2 separate regions of the Homo sapiens genome follow, and region 1 is linked to region 2. The links are contacts of gene promoters, found by promoter capture Hi-C in human tissues and cell types (Jung and others, 2019). All regions are on one chromosome and are shown on one strand. Each heading gives the region's core, a stretch centred on a gene start or on the middle of the fragment in contact. The rest is flanking DNA. Distances are from core to core; before and after follow the strand shown. Region 1 has its middle 100 kb from the start of TRIM42. Region 2 holds the start of RBP1 (retinol binding protein 1).

What was found. The method cuts DNA at HindIII sites, captures the fragments that hold promoters and counts their contacts. A contact is called where the count stands out against the background at its distance.
Region 1: a fragment that was not itself captured here is called in contact with the fragment with the promoter of RBP1 in region 2 in 1 of the 25 tissues and cell types used here (IMR-90 fibroblasts).

What each region holds. Positions count from the first base shown.
Region 1 is chr3:140,781,557-140,784,319 of GRCh38, reverse strand. No RefSeq gene overlaps it. Among named protein-coding and RNA genes, the nearest start is that of TRIM42, 100 kb to the right of the region's middle. The HindIII fragment of the contact is 4,455 bases long and covers 1-2,763 here.
Region 2 is chr3:139,538,223-139,541,076 of GRCh38, reverse strand. It overlaps RBP1 (retinol binding protein 1), which reads left to right and starts at 1,335. Exons shown (of 4, transcript NM_002899.5): 1 at 1,335-1,617; 2 at 2,118-2,296. The coding sequence starts at 1,359. All of the region lies in intron 3 of COPB2-DT (COPB2 divergent transcript), which reads right to left. RefSeq lists an enhancer at 2,260-2,854. The HindIII fragment of the contact is 8,428 bases long and covers 1-2,854 here.

The DNA of each region.
Region 1 (2,763 bases), core at 170-2,669, 1.2 Mb before region 2:
AAAAATTATTAATTCAATTTCCTTAATAGTTGTGGGGCTATTTAAATGATCTATTTCATATTGGGTGAGTTGTGGTAGTTTGAGTTTTCTGAGGAATTAATCTATAATCTCTAAATTGTCAAATTTCTGTATGTGGAGTTATTCAGAATATTCCCTTATTATCCTTTTGATGTCTGTAGTAATATCTTCTGTTTCATTCCTGTTACTGGTAATTTGTGTCTTCTTTTTATTTCTTTGTCACTCTTGCTAGAGGCTTTTAGATATTTATTGATTTTTTTTTAAGAAACTTCTCTTTGTTTCACTGATTTGCTCTACTATTTTTCTGTTTTCAATTTTATAAATTTCTGTCTTCATCTTTCTTATTATCTTTCTTCTGCTTGTTTTGGGTTTATTTCACTCTTCTTTTTCTAGATTCTTGAGGTGCGAGATTAGATTGATTTGAGATTTTTTTCTTTTTTAGTGCTAAAAATTTTCATTTCAGCATGCTTTCACTGTGTTCCACAAAGTTTGAGTTGTTCATTTTTATTTTTATTCAGCTTAGTGTATTTTTAAAATTTATCTTGTAGCTCCTGCTTTATCCCATAAATTATTTAAATGCATGTTGTTTAGGCTCTGGGTGTTTGGAGACTATTATCTTTCTGCTACTGATTTGTAGTTTTATTCCATTGTCCTCAGATAATATACTTGGTATGACTTCAGTCATTTTAAATTTGTTGTGATTTGTATAATTTGTTTGCCCAGGAGATGATCTTTCTTTATATTTGTGCCATTGGCACTTGCAAAGAATATGTATTTTGCTGTTGTTGTGGGAAGCATCCTATAAATCTTTATTAGATATGGTTGGTCGGTGGTGCTACTGAGTTTTATATCCTTGCTGATCTTCTGTCCAGTTATTCTATCAATTGTTGAGAGAGAGGTGTTAAAGTTTTCCAGTAAAATTGTGGATTTGTCTATTTATCTTTTCATTTCTATCAGATTTTGCTTCAATTATTTTATGTCCCTGTTGTTTGGCACATATACATATAGGATTACTATGTCTTTTGGTAAATTGACCCTTTTTGTCATTACATAATGTTTCTCTCTATCTTTAGTAATTTTCTTTACTTTGATGTCTTCTCTGTCTAATAATATAGCCACTCTGCTTTCTTTTTATTAATGTTTACATGATTATCTATCATCTACTATCTACCACTTTCTTTTACTTTCTACTATCTACCATTTTCTTTTACTTTCAACCTGCCTATATTCAAATACAACCTTGTAATATTTGACATGAGTTACATGTAGATAGTATATGTTGGGGTCATGTTTTTAAATCTATGCTGTCAATATGTCTTTAACATGTTTAGACTATTTACATTTAATGTAATTATTATGTTAGATCTTAAGTTTGCCATTTAATTTTTTGTTTTCCTTTGTTCTCTTTTTTGTTTCTGTTTACGTTTTTCTGCCTTCTTGTGGGTTACTTAAACATTCTATAGAATTCCATTTTGATTATCTATTCGTATCTATTCTTAAGTATGTCTTTTTAGATAGCTTTTTAGGTGGCTGCTGTAGGTATTACATTATATGCACATAACACAGTCTCCTGGTGTGTCATTTTACCAGTTCAAGTGAAGTATGCAAACCTTACCTCCCTCTGTGTCACTTTATCCACTTTCATTTATAATATAATTTTCTTATTTTCTTGACATGCATTTAGAACTATATCACAGAGTGTTATAATTTTTTCTTTAAATTTCAAATATGATTTAGAAAACTCAAGAGAAAAGTATTATATTTTCTCCTATGTTCAGTTACTGTGTTTCTTCTTCCTGCTGGATGTTTCAAAGTGCCTTCTTTTATCATTTCCTTCCTGTTTAAAGATCTTCCTTTAAGCTTTGTTTTTGGATAAGTCTGTTGGAGACAGATTCTTTTGTTTTCCTTCATCTGAAAATTTCTTAATTTCCCTTCATTCATAAAGAATATTTTCATTGCATATAGGCTTCTGGGTTAACAGGTCTTTCAGAACTTGAAAAATACGTCATTATTTTCTGGCCTTCATGGTTTCTGATGAGAAATTCATTGTCATTTGAACTGTTTTCTACCTATAGATAAGTTAGATAAGTTGTTATTTCACTCTTGCTGCTTTTAAGACATTTTGTTTGTCTTTAGTTTTCCACAGTTTGAGTATAAAGTACCTAGGTGTGGATTTCTTTAGATTTATCTTCTCTGGGTCTTGCCAGAGAAGGAGAGAGGTGGATCAGAGAGGGAACTTAACACATATAAGTAATCAGGAGTCTTTGGGTCAGAGCGCTGTGAATGGGATTGTTATCACTGCTGGTTTTATCTTATCTATGATTAGTAGATGTTTGGTACAGTTTCATAGGCTATGCAAAGCAGACAGGCTCTAAATGGCTAACAGTCTGCTTCTTTGAGCTGTGTTTGAAGTAACTGGATTTGTAAAACTTGAGTTTGATACTAGTTGGCTTTTGAGTGAATTAATCTCAGCCTTCTGTGAAGAAGTAAACAAGCCAGGGGCCAATACACAGAGGTCATATTTGGCTCATTTATGTAACACAGATGACACTTCCTTAAGTCTTCTCTGACATCACCTCTGACACCTTGGGTGCTGAGCTTCCTAGCTTGTCTGCTTTCTTATTTACACTTTCAGTCTTCTTATCTTTATCTTCTATGTAAAATGTAGAGTGTTTTTAGTTGTATTTAGAGGAGGCAATAGGGAAAAGTACATCTACTCCATCTCCTGGAAGTGCAAGTCCCAGG
Region 2 (2,854 bases), core at 86-2,585:
CCAAGTTGCTGCCTGGGAGGAAGCTGTCTCTACCCTGAGGAAGAGGCTCCTTTTCCTAATTCAGCCTGCACTGTGAGAACACATGTGAGCCCCAGGGAGGCACCCTGGGGAAGGTGGTGCTAGAGGGGAAGAAAATGTTATCTGCTGTCACTTAGGCTGTGATTTGTGCAAAAAGCGATTTAAAAGAGGTAGTCAAAAAGAGGGTCAAAAAGTCAGCCCATGTGATTATGTCATCTACTTGGTGGCAAATGCAGTTAAACCACAATGACATACCCACGCAGGTGACAAAGGAGATGTGATCAAAGATTTTCATTGCAGTACTGCTTTTAATAGTGAAAGATCAGAAACAATATAGTTTGTCCATCAGGGGACAAGCTGGATAAGCAATGGAATACTCCGTAAAATAATGGGGATACTTTCTATGTACAGCTATGGAAAAGTCTCCAGAATATATTAAGTGAATAAAGCAAAGTCCAGAACACCGTGGAGTACAGTGCTGCCATTAGGTGAAACGGGAGGAAACATTAATAAACAGTATATTGCTTACATTTGCATAAAGCAGCAGTGGATCTCAAAGTTGATTGTGCATCAGAATCACCCAGAAGGCTTTTTTAGCCACATGCACTTCAAATAACATCAACTATTTTACTTATTTATTTATTTATTTATTGAGCCAGAGTCTCACTCTGTCGCCCAGGCTGGAGTGTAGTGGCACGATCTCGGCTCACTACAACCTCCTCCTCCCGGGTTCAAGCTATTCTCCTGCCTCAGCCTCCCGAGTAGTTGGGACTACAGGCGCCCGCGACCACGCCCGGCTAATTTTTTGTATTTTTAGTAGAGACGAGGTTTTACCGTGTTGCCCAGGCTGGTGTCGAATTCCTGACCTCAGGTGATCCGCCCGCCTCGGCCTCCCAAAGTGCTGGGATTACAGGCGTGAGCCGCCGTGCCCGGCATCCTTTCTTTTATTTTCGGGAGAGACGTGGAAAGTGCCCCAATTTTCTCGCCCGTAGTTGAACCTCCCAGCTTTCCTGACCCCAGCCACCACCGGCGCGAGGCTTTAGACAAAGGCCTGTAAGTGGCCTCTTTCCTTAATCACGCCAGCACAAACCCCAGGAGATTGTTTCCCAACTCCCGAGTGGCTGCTGAGTGTGAGAAGTTAATGGCGTTTGAAGGAAATCCCCAGCAGCCGAAGAGTTCGGCCAACAAAGCAAACGTCCCGTCTCCGGTCTCCTCTTCCTTTGTAGGGGAAACGAACTGAACGTCTGAAACGAAGGTGGCGCGGCCTGGACAAACCTGACCCTTCGACATCCCCCGCCCCTGCGCCCGCCCTCGCTAAGCGGGGAGGAGCGACCGCTACAATGGATCCTCCCGCAGGCTTTGTGCGCGCTGGGAATCCAGCTGTCGCCGCCCCGCAGAGCCCCCTGTCCCCGGAGGGCGCTCATTTCCGGGCCGCCCACCACCCGCGTAGCACCGGCAGCCGCTGTCCCGGCAGTCTCCAGCCGTCCCGCCCGCTTGTGGCCAACTGGCTCCAGTCACTCCCCGAAATGCCAGTCGACTTCACTGGGTACTGGAAGATGTTGGTCAACGAGAATTTCGAGGAGTACCTGCGCGCCCTCGGTAAGCGCTGCCCGCTGCGCCCTGGGCGCCCCGCCGAGCAGCTCCGGGCCGCTCCCTAGAGCCCTCCCGAGACGCTGCCTGCCTGCCTCCATCCCGGCGAGCCGCGGTCCGGTGCCCCCGGACGCCAGAAAGGGCGTCCTCGGCCACCGCTCCCAGGGCAGCCCCCAGGCTGCAGATTGGAGAATTCGGGGTTGTTAGGTTAACCGGTGGCAAATGTCTGCTCGTTGGCCCTGGAGGTGGGTAATTTCATTAGTAAATCTGGGGCTTGGTTTGCTACTTTTTGTTTTTAAACGGTTAACATAAGAGCAGAAAACTTTGTTGGGGGCGGCAGGGGAGGCACAGGCAGGCTGTGCGCAGAGACAACGCAAAGCCAGCGGGAACCCTAACAGTGTTCGCGGGCGGAGAGGGCTCCTGGGGCCCCGCTACCTTGGGAACGGTTCTCTGAGTTTCCCTGCCAACTCTCTGGCGCTCTCTCTCTCCCCGTTCAACCCCCACCGCAGACGTCAATGTGGCCTTGCGCAAAATCGCCAACTTGCTGAAGCCAGACAAAGAGATCGTGCAGGACGGTGACCATATGATCATCCGCACGCTGAGCACTTTTAGGAACTACATCATGGACTTCCAGGTTGGGAAGGAGTTTGAGGAGGATCTGACAGGCATAGATGACCGCAAGTGCATGGTGAGGATTCGCGTCCACCTGGTGTCTCCTGCCCAGGGGGCCTGACCAAGGGCTGGGCTAGTTCATCCGAGAGGGGGCAAGGGCCTGAGGGACTGAAAACTCTTCCCACTCTCAGCCCCCATGGTGGGCAGCACCAACTCATGAAGCATCCTGCTCTATCTACACTGGAAGGTGATGGTTATGAAGGCTGCCATGTGCTGTGTCTCCACTGCGTTCAGGCACTCTGCCCGGTGCTTTATGCACATGACTTCACCTAAGCCTCACACAGCCTTTGAGGGAGATATGAATATGCCCATTTTACAGATGAAGAAACAGTCTCAAAGAGATGAAGTAACATGTCCAGAGTAGCACAGCTAGGGAGGGTCTGGAGTTCAAAGCATGTCTGTTGATGCCGTTCTCTGGCTGACTGGGCTGGTGGAGGGTAAAAGAAAAGAAAGGAGGAAAGAAAAAAGAAACACAGGTAACCCCTTTGAAGTGTAAACTTTCAGTATGACTTAGTGTGAAGTCACTCCAGGAAGCTGGGGGCCCCTTGATCTCTGCTGGAAGCCCCCTGATCTG